Linked DNA regions of Homo sapiens: region 1 is linked to region 2. Evidence: promoter capture Hi-C in 16 types of primary human blood cells and fetal thymus (Javierre and others, 2016). All regions are on one chromosome and are shown on one strand. The core of a region is centred on a gene start or on the middle of the fragment in contact, and the rest is flanking DNA. Distances in the headings are between cores, read along the strand shown.

Region 1 (4,728 bases), core at 2,229-4,728, 670 kb before region 2:
TTCTGTTCCTTTCATCACATATCTGTCACCTGCGACCTCTTTCCTCTATCCATAGGCCCATTTTGTAGTCCACAGCCTCCTTCCTTCCTTCCTTGCTTCCTTCCTTCCTTCCTTCCCTCTCTCCCTCCTTCCCTCCCTCTCTCCTTTTTCTTTCTTTCTTCCATTTTTTTTTGTTTGTTTTTGTTTTTGACAGGGTCTCACTCCGGTCACCCAGGCTGGAGTGCAGTGGTGCAATCATGGCTCACTGGGCTGGGCGCGGTGGCTCACGCCTGTAATCCTAGCTCTTTGGGGGGCCGAGGCGGGCGGATTGCCTGAGCTCAGGAGTTTGAGACCAGCCTGGGCAACATGGTGAAACCCTGTCTCTACTAAAATACAAAAAATTAGCCGGGCGTGGCAGCATGTGCCTGAGGTCCCAGCTACTTGGGAGGCCGAGGCAGGAGAATTGCTTGAACGCGGGAGGCGGAGGTTGCAGTGAGTCGAGATTGTACCACTGCACTCCAGACTCAGCGACAGAGTGAGATTCTATCTGAAAAAAAAAAAAAAAAAATTATGGCTCACTACAGCCTCCACATCCCATCCTCCCACCTCAGCCTCCTGAGTAACTGGGATCACGAGCACGCACCATCATGCCTGGCTAATTTTTTGTATTTTTAGTAGAGACAGAGTTTCGCCATGTTGCCCAGGTGGGTCAGGAACTCCTGGGCTCAAGCTATCCTCTCACCTCGGCCTCCCAAAGTGCTGGGATTCCAGGCATGAGCCACCGCCCTCGGCCACGCCACACATTTCTAACATAGCCCATCCTCTGTCCGTGCCCCAGGGCTGCATTTTTCTAGCCACTGCCGTGTTTCTAAGACTTGCTGTCTCACTTCTGCCTCTGCCACATTTCTCCAGTTGGCTGTTTTCCTCCCTGAGACCATGGCTTTGGTTCTGGGCCTGCTGCCACAGCAGTGGAGAAGCAGCCCCGCTCCTCGCCGACCTGGCTTTTTGCTGCCTGGAGCCTCGCTCTGAGGTCCCTCCCCCTCCCAGCTGTTGTCTGCCCTTTTGCTGGGGGGGGGGGGGGGCTATTCTTAGGCCCCCAGCACGTGGGAAGCAGCTGCCCTCAGGAAGCGACTGGGCTGTTCTGGGTTCCCTTAGGGACACAGTCGGACCTGAATGGATTCCAGACCCCACCCCAAACCAGAGGCTGTGAATGAGTAAAGGAACCACAGTGCCTCTCCATCCCCAGCCTGGACCTGTCTGTCCCTTAGCCCTGCCGCCTGATGGCTTTCTCCTTGGACAACAGCGTGCCGCCTGATGGCTTTCTCCTTGGACAACAGCGTGTCTCTTTCCGTCTTCACCCTGGGGCCCTGGAACTCCCCCTCCTCTCTAATCCCTGATCTGCCCATCTCAGACTCTGTCCTGTGGGTCTGTCCACTGACCTCTCCTCTCTTCCCCGATATTCCATGCTTCTCTCTCCTTCTAGGACTGGCTTTCTGAAACATCTGGTGGCCTCTCTTCTGTCCCCAGTCTATTACTCTTGCCTGTGGCTCCATCCACCCTTCTCCCTTGGTCTGCCTGTCCCCCTCACTCTCCAAGCTTGGCTGTTAGTAACAATAATGACGATGATCATAACAATGACAATCACCGCCCACACAATGTGCTACCTTCATGCCAAGAACTCTACTAACCACTTTGTCCTTATTAACTGTTTCCTCCTCCCAGCACCGCTAGAAGGTAGACGCTATTAGCATGTCCATTAGCCAAGGACACACAGGCAGCAAGTGGAGGGTGAACTTGAACTTCAAGCTCCAGAATCCTGCTCCTTCCTGACCTCAGGCCCACTTCTCCCCAGCTCTGCCTGGCTGGCTGGCATTCTTTTCTGAGACAGAGTCTCGCTCCGTCGCCCAGGCTGGAGTGCAGTGGCCCAATCGCAGCTCACTGCAACCTCCGCCTCCCGGGTTCAAGCGATTCTCCTGCCTCAGCCTCCCGAGTAGCTGGGATTACAGGCACCCGCCACCACACCCAGCTAATTTTTGTATTTTTGGTAGAGACGGGGTTTCGCCATGTTGACCAGGCTGTCTTTCGATCTTGCTCTCTTTCTCTCTGGGTCTGAGGACCTTGGCCTCTTGGATCTCCGTCTCAGTCTGTCTCATACTTGCCATCTGTCTGTCCATTCGCCCATGTCTGGGATCCACCCACCCACTTCCAGGCCCTGCATCTGTCTGGGTGTCCTATCACGCCTCCTTCCTGTGTCCAAGCCTGCCTCGCTCTCTGGCTGGGGCTGTCCACCCTGCACCCTCTCCGTCTGTGGCTCCCACCCCGATGGCAGGCTGTCCACCCGCTTCTGCCCTGGGCTGGGCCACGTCCCACCTTGCAGCCCTTGCTGTTCATGGAATCCAGTGTCCTCTTCAGGGCCGGGGTGGGGGCCTCCAGCAGTTCCACCTGGGTCCTCACGCCCTGCTCCGTGTACGGCCCCACCAGGAAGTAGTTGTCGCCCCATTCGTCCCCTGTCACCTTCGCCTTCGTCTGCAGCACCGTGTAGATGCCACCCACTGTGGGCCCAAGCGTGTGAGGGCAGGCCCCGGCCGAGGTCCATAGTTCTGGGGCCTGGGGTGGGGTGGGCCGGGGATGTAGGGGGCACTCAGGCCCCAGACCTCTAGCTCAGGGGGAAGAGGGGACTGGGAGCCCATAGTTTGGAGTAGGGGTTGGAAGCTTGGATGAGGGGAACACGAGGGCTGGAGGGCAGTCCTCCTGGGTCTAAGGGAGAAGGGGGCTGGGGTCAGGACCCTGAAGGAGGAGGGGGCTCAGGCTAGACTTCTGGGTCTGAGAGAGAAGGGGCTGGGTGCCGGGACCCCTTGGTCTGAAGGAATTAGGCACTGGGGCTCTAAGGATGGCAGAGCTGAGGACTGACTACCCGGACTCAGGTTCCCGAGTTCCCAGCTCACAGGAGCTGGGTTTAAATCGCAGCCAGGCTCCAAAACCCAGTGAGGGAGACCCCCTCATGGCCAATCCAGCTTCTCACCATTGCCCAAGAGAAGCCTGCATGGTCATTCCCTGCCCCCAGGGACCTTGCTGACCTGCCTCCCAATTTCCTCTCCCTGACTAGGGACACCAGCATGCAGGGCTCTGCCTCTCCCATGACCCTATCCCAGACCCAGGAGCCCCAGCCCCCAGCCTCCTCCCATCCTGGAGCCCAGGCCCTGGCGATACCCGGCTGGGTGTTCACGGGCCCCCTCTCCTCCTGGGAGACACAGTCCCTTTCTCCTCCAAGACCCAGCAAAGCAACCCCCCAGACCCTGCTCTTTGAGGTGTGAGATTGGCTTGTTCCTGGGGATTTCAGCCCCAGCCTTCTCCAAGGCCAGAACCTCAGCTTTCTGAAGCCCAAGACACAGAAATGCAGGCTCCTAGCCCCTCCCATCCTAGGGCCCAGCCTCTGACTAACTTAGGACTTCCCAGCCTTCCCCTATTCCAGTACGCATGTGTCCCAGGCCATGGGCTCCTCTACTCCTAGGAACTAATAGCTCAGGCCCTCAGCTCCTTCAAAGCCCAGGCATTCATTACAGTCTCCAGCCCGTCCCATCTTTATTCTTAAGCAGCCAGATCCTCAGGTCCTCCCACCGCCGCTCAGGCCTCCTATCTCCCAGTCAGCTCTCTCTCAAATCTGGAGTTTTATCCCCTAGACCATGCTGTTAGGGTCATAGGTCTGAAACCCCGGCAGCTTCCCAGGTTTGCACGCAGAAATCCCATCCCCCCATCCCCTTCCCTGTTCAGGACCCAGGTATCTAGTCTCTCGGAAGCCTGCCTCCAGGACCTAGGAGTCTCATTTTAGCGCCCTCTTCCCTAGGACCCAGAACCCGGGCTTCCAGCCTCCTTTCATCTTAAGTCAAACGAACCATCCCTCTCCCACCCACCTCCGGCTTCCCAGCCCCTCCTCAAGGACACAGCCTCCTTGCCCAGGTCACAAGGGTTCCCCTAGTAGCCCCGTCCTCCTACAACTCAGAGTTCCGGGCCCCCATCCACTACTGTCCTTCTCGTCAAGGGCCCCGACGCCTGGCGTGCTCACCCTTGTTAGCCACCTCCCAGGCCACTTCGAAGAGCACTGCGTTCTCCAGGTCGAATTCATCCTCCCAGTCCTCCAGTCCTGGCAGTGAGGACATGGACAAAGTGCGGTTTAAAGGCATGGCTGGCGCAGGAAGGGGGGCTCCGGGGATCTCCAGGTAGGGACCCCGGAGGTGTCTAGGGAATGCACCAGGTAGGGTGCGGGGCCGAGTAGCTGGTGCCCGACGGGAAGCTTGCAAGACGCTCGGCTTCCTATTGCAAGACCGCACCCCTGCCCCGAAGCGTTGGGACCTAGGCAGAAGGAGGCCGCAGCGTCACTGAGCCCACTGGCGCCCCTGCAGTGAAACCTCGCAGCCGCCAGGAGGCGGTGGCCGCCCCCCCCAGCCAGCGCCATTGGCCCACGCCCGGGGGCGGGGATTTCCGCGTGTCCTCATTGGTGGAACGGGTTGGAGTCGCTGTGTCCCGGCCCCGCCTCGGCCGTGAGACCTCCAGGGGGCGGAGCTTGCCGCTGCGCTTTACGGAAACGAGTGGCCTTCAGCTCTGTCAATCTGGAGCTGGAGGCCTCAAAGTGGGGAGGAGGAGGAGGGTGGGATAAAGAGGAAAGGAGCGTGGAGGACGTGTGGTTACTCAAAGAACAGCTAAGAATTTTGCAATCGGCCTGAGCGGGGCGGTGGTGGGGCTGAGCAAAAG
Region 2 (5,356 bases), core at 1,658-4,157:
GCCCCCTGCGAATCGAAATCCATGAAATCCCGGGAAGGTGTGCTCGGGCCTTGAATGCTGGGTGAAGACTTGGAATTTTCTCCTGAGGAGACCGGGGCAGGGACAGACAGGGTCAGCACTGGCTCAGGTGAGGGGCAGGCTGGAGGCAGGGGAGTGGGGGGATCGTCTAGAGGGAGAGGACAAGGCCCATGGAGACAGGTCGGAGACTGAGGGGCATGAAAGTTGGGCACATTCTCACCTGGGTATCAGAAGTACTGCCTCCACCATTGGTGTCCGGAGAGGTGTCTGGCTGGGAAAAGTCCCCAACTCCTGTTGAGAAAAGTGGTGAGGGGAGTAGGAGTGCCAGGAACCCTTGGGGCCCCAGCCTCCCACACGAACCCCAAGCTGGCAGACCTGAGTTCACAAACTCGTAGATTTTATGTGGGTCGTGAGGGTCCTTGCTCCGGTCCTCTGCTAAACGCAACCCTTCTTTGCGGTTGAGGGCAGAGCGGAAATTCCTCTTCCAGGTTGGCAGGTCTGGCTTATCCCTCCCGGGAACATATGCACCAGTGGCCTCGGCCCAGGCCTGGGGCAACAGTGGTGTCAGGATGGTGGGGGAGGACGACTTAGATCCTGCTCCTGGGGCCCTAACCCTGTCTCCCGAGTCCTAACACCACCCTCTTTCCCTGGCAAGTTCTAACTCTGCAAGGTCCATCCCCAAATCCCCCCGTCCCACCTACCTCCATCCCCCACCTCTAGTTTTCAAAAGGCTTTTTTTCTTTTTGAGATGGAGTTTCACTCCTGTCACCCAGGCTGGAATGCAATGGTGCAATCTCAGCTCACTGCAACTTCCGCCTCCCCGGTTCAAGCGATTCTCCTGTCTCAGCCTCCTGAGTAGCTGGGATTACAGGTGGGCACCACTACACCTGGCTAATTTTTGTATTTTTAGTAGAGATGGGGTTTCACCATGTTGGCCAGGCTGGTCTTGAACTCCTGACCTCAGGTGATCCGTCCTCCTCGGCCTCCCAAAGTGCTGGGATTACAGGCATGAGCTACTGTGCTCGGCCTCTTCAAAAGCCTTTGAAACCTCTTTGGTTTTTGTTTTGTTTCGCTTTTGTTTTTAAAGAGATGGAGCCTATGTTGCCCAAGCTGGCCTCAAACTCCTGGGCTCAAGCGATCCTCCCGCCTTGGCCTTGCAAAGTGCTAGGATTACAGGTGTGAACCACCGCCCCCGGCCCAAAAACCTTTTCTTTCTAAGCCAGGCTTCCAAGTCCAACTTGGTGTCTAATCCCGTGCACCACCTGCCCCGCGACACCCTCTGTGATAACCCCGCCCCTCACACTGTTTACCACCTCTGGCATATACTAATTCGGTAGTTAGGAACCTCAGATTTGGGGCTCCAGGCCTCACCTCTGATGTTTCAAGAACCATCCCCCAGTATCTATCCTACAACCAAGAGCCCCGGCCTCTAGAAAGCCCCAAACCCCCAGGATGCATTTCCTTTGCGTACTAACCGGCTTTCCCGGTTTTATTCCCGTAACCCTGCAGCTCCAACCCTGCTTGCGCCCCACCATCAGTCAGCGGATCCGGCTAGCCCCGCCCCTCCCGTTCTAGCCCCACCCACCAGCGTTGGCACGAGCCCGCCCCTCGCGCGCCACCTCCGCCTTCTCAGCCGGGCCCACTAGGAGTCCTTTCCGCCCAGCGCGCAGCTCCGGGTTTCCAGCGTCCCAGGTCGTCGCACGCACCTGGAAGATTCCGAAATCCTCCTGCTGTGCATCCTGCCGTAGGCCGTGCTTCCAAGGGATGCGGAAGCGCGTGCGGCTCTTGTTCACCCAGGCCACGCCCTCCAGTTGCCCCAGGTCCAGCTGCGACACCAGCCAGGGCAGGATCCGTGGCTTTGGGGTTCCCATGGTCCGGCCTGCGCGTATAGGGCATTTCCTGGGCGCGACCGGCCTCCCCCGGACCCACCTGGCCTGGAGTTTCCGCACCCAGACCTCCTTCTCACGGGCCACGGCACAGGTCCTTCACCCATATTTTCGGGGGTACAAACAGGAAACCTCCTCTTCCCATCCTCCCATCCTCCCGAGAGGCTCTCTAATCAGCTAGGGTTCCTTCCCATATCCATGGCACATCCTTCCCCAGCGTCTTCAGTGCAGACCCTCCACTCCCTCAATTCCGCCAGTATAGACCTCCTCCCTCCCCCACATCATCGAAAGTAAGTATCCCCACTTTCAGGGTAGCATCCTCTTTCCCTAGTTATTTCAGTGCAGAATCGATTCACGTGTAAGCCTCTACCTCCTGCACTTACCCCAATGTAGACCCCCTTCCACAGTCCCCCTACAGAAGATCTCCCAAAACATTTCCAACACAGAACTTCCATTCAATTCCCCTCCGACTGCCCGCCTCCCTCCTCCAGGACAGAGCACGCCCCAGGTTTCGAGACTGAACTACCCCCATCTACGGAGTCCACCCCTCCCTCTCTAGAACCCCCTCAGTGTAGACGCCTCCTCTTTTCCTCTTTCCTCCCTACTTTTTCTAGTTTTTCTGCAGCCGACCTCCAGCGTCGGCCACTGTAGCTCCTTCCTTGCTCCACTTTCCCCAGAGTACACAGCCTGCCTTTCCACTCTCCGTGCAGACCCATCCTCTTTCCCGCTCCTCGCTCTCGGACGCCACCAACGCTCTCCCGGGCTCTTCCGCGTTACCTACGATGGAAGGTCGGGGCGTGCGGGCAGCTGGAACCCACCCCTGTCTTGGAGCTCCGGGTAGCTCTCAAACTCGAGGCTGCGCACCCCCTTTCCCGTCAGCTGAGCTCTAGAGCGCTGGGGCTTTCTTTTTGATCGACTTCTTGAAATAAAACCAACTTTATCATTCTTTGGGTAACAGACCCAAAAGCCGATGGGACGGCCCGCTGGGCTGTTCCCGCCCCTATGCCCTTTTTTGGGTTTCCGGCCAGAGGCATGCTGGGAGCGTCACATGCAAATTGAGCGTGCACCCAGCGTTCCGCCCTTTCTACGCTGGGCCGGTTATCGACCCGGCCCAGTGCGCAGGCGCGGGAAAGTTGAACTAATAAAGTTTGTACGAGTTCAGTGGAGGAGACCGCAAGTTGAGTGGAGGAGGCGGCGGTGGGGCCCCGGACCAGGTCAGCGGGGTGTTGACGAGGGGTGGGGTGAGGAGGGAAGAGGAGGGGGCCGGGATCCAGTGGTGGGCACCCCAGTCCCGCTTCTCTGATATCCAAGGGTCCAGGGTCCTCTAGATTCCAGCAGGGGTCGGAGATTTGGAACTACACCTCACAGCAGGCTGCGCGGCGAAGAAGCGCGGACCTAGGGGAAGATTTGCCCTGAAACCTCTTGGGATTGGTAGTTCCCGATGCTTTAAGGGTTTCAGGAGTTTGGCATATGCCTCTTATAGAATCCAGGAGTTGGGGCGCTAAGCCTCTTCTTCCTGGGAGACCTAAGGGTCTGGGGCTCCAGTTCCTTTTTCTCTAAGACTCAGAAGTCCAGGACCCCAGCTCCCTCCTCCTTTAGACCCACGAATCTGGGCACCCAGCCCCACCACCTTTCCTTGGATCGAAGAGTCTTTTTCCTGATCGCTTTTTCGTCTGAGGACTCAAGAGTCTAGGCCCCCAGACCCACACTCTCCAAAGGACCCAGGAGTCCAGGCCCTCAGCACCTTCCTTGGGACTCACAAGTCCTGGTCCCCAAGCCTCCACTTCTTGCTAAACCCTTGGAGTCCAGTCCCTAACCCTCTCTCTCACAGGTGCCTCCATGGCAGGCTCTGAAGAGCTGGGGCTCCGGGAAGACACGCTGAGGGTCCTAGCTGCCTTCCTTAGGCGTGGTGAGGCTGCCGGGTCTCCTGTTCCAACTCCACCTAGGTAAGAGGAGTGGCCCTTCTCCCCCAGGGGCCAGCATTTGAGGCTCCCTCCTAACTCTTGCTCCTGGTCTCAGTCTGTCTCCTCTCTTTATATCTGGCTCTATTCTCTGTCTTTGGGGTTTTGGAGAGAGGTCCTCAGCGGGGGAGGGAGGGAGTTGGGGAAAGAGACTGCTTGCAGGGGATCTCTGGTGGGGTCAGTCTCTGAAGTCCTCCTCTCCAGAAGCCCTGCCCAAGAAGAGCCAACAGACTTCCTGAGCCGCCTTCGAAGATGTCTTCCCTGCTCCCTGGGGCGAGGAGCAGCCCCCTCTGAGTCCCCTCGGCCTTGCTCTCTGCCCATCCGCCCCTGCTATGGTTTAGAGCCTGGTAAGAGATTTCCATGATCATCTATGAAGCCGGCAGAACACGGGATAAGGTGCTAGTTTAAGATCACTCAGCTAGGGGGTGGCTGTGTGGAGTCTCTAGCACCAGCCTTCAGGACAGAACCGTCCTGTCCTCTCCCCTCCCCAGTTAGATTTCTGTCAATTCTGTGGGTTGGCTTTCAGAGAGCATTTGGTCAATCTGGTTGTTGTCTCTTTCCTTCCATAACTACTTCCCTGCCCCTAGGACTTTTGTAGCCAGGAATACCCCTGATAGAGGGGCAGAAGGGCTGGTTTTCAATCACATCTCCCTGGCTGTTTTAGTTGCGTGACTCTGGGGAAAATGCTTTCTCTTCCCTGCTCCCCTGTTTTTCCAATAGCAGAGTAGGAATTGGGGAGGAGGTCACTGGACTTGATCAAGGTGACCCACAAGTTTCCTCATAGGTGTGAACCTGGACAGACTAGTAATGGCTGCTGGGAGTGCTAGCTTGAAAAGGGGTTCACAGCTTGGGAGAGGAAGTGCTGTGATCAATTGGTGATGTCTGTAGTGAGTGAGGGAAGGGGATACTAACAGTAATGTCTTGTGTTTGCCTTCCTTGGATGAGATCATCTTCAAGGTCTAGTTGAGCTCTGACAGTCTTTTGGAGACAGATTGTTGCTCTGTCACCCAGGCTGGAGTGCAGGGGTGCAATCTCGACTCACTGCAATCCCCACCTCCTGGGTTCAAGCGATTCTCGTGCCTCAGCCTCCCGAGTGACTGGGATTACAGGTGCACGCCAGCATACTAGCTGATTTTTATACTTTTAGTAGACACGGGGTTTCGCCACGTTGGCCAGGCTGGCCTCAAACTCCTGGCCTCAAGTGACCCTCCCACGTCGGCCTCCCAAAATGTTGAGATTGCAGACGTGAGCCACCGCACCCTGTCAGCTCTGACATTCTTTTTTTTTTTTTTTTTTTTGAGACGGAGTTTCGCCCTTGTTGCCCAGGCTGGAGTGCAATGGCCCGATCTCGGCTCACCACAACCTCTACCTCCCGGGTTCAAGTAATTCTCCTGCCTCAGCCTCCCAAGTAGCTGGGATTATAGGCATGCGCCACCATGCCCGGCTAATTTTTTTTGTATTTTTAGTAGAGATGGGGTTTCTCCATGTTGG

Evidence for each region. Contacts are between HindIII fragments. The CHiCAGO score rates a contact against its expected background, and 5 or more counts as called.
Region 1: a contact is called between a fragment that was not itself captured here and the fragment with the promoter of IRF3 in region 2, in 1 of 17 cell types (non-activated CD4 T cells). The highest score is 5.4, in non-activated CD4 T cells.

What each region holds. Positions count from the first base shown.
Region 1 is chr19:48,988,953-48,993,680 of GRCh38, forward strand. It overlaps GYS1 (glycogen synthase 1), which reads right to left and starts at 4,357. Exons shown (of 16, transcript NM_002103.5): 1 at 4,043-4,357; 2 at 2,350-2,531. The coding sequence starts at 4,160. It also overlaps a transcript of RUVBL2 not described here. RefSeq lists enhancers at 813-1,204, 3,914-4,053 and a silencer at 4,264-4,623. The HindIII fragment of the contact is 1,579 bases long and covers 2,690-4,268 here.
Region 2 is chr19:49,662,950-49,668,305 of GRCh38, forward strand. IRF3 (interferon regulatory factor 3) reads right to left here and starts at 2,908. Exons shown (of 8, transcript NM_001571.6): 1 at 2,682-2,908; 2 at 1,725-1,897; 3 at 394-565; 4 at 239-309. The coding sequence starts at 1,889. BCL2L12 (BCL2 like 12) reads left to right here and starts at 2,984. Exons shown (of 7, transcript NM_138639.2): 1 at 2,984-3,118; 2 at 3,736-3,850; 3 at 4,070-4,212. The coding sequence starts at 3,744. RefSeq lists silencers at 2,887-3,036, 3,077-3,156. The HindIII fragment of the contact is 30,887 bases long and covers 1-5,356 here.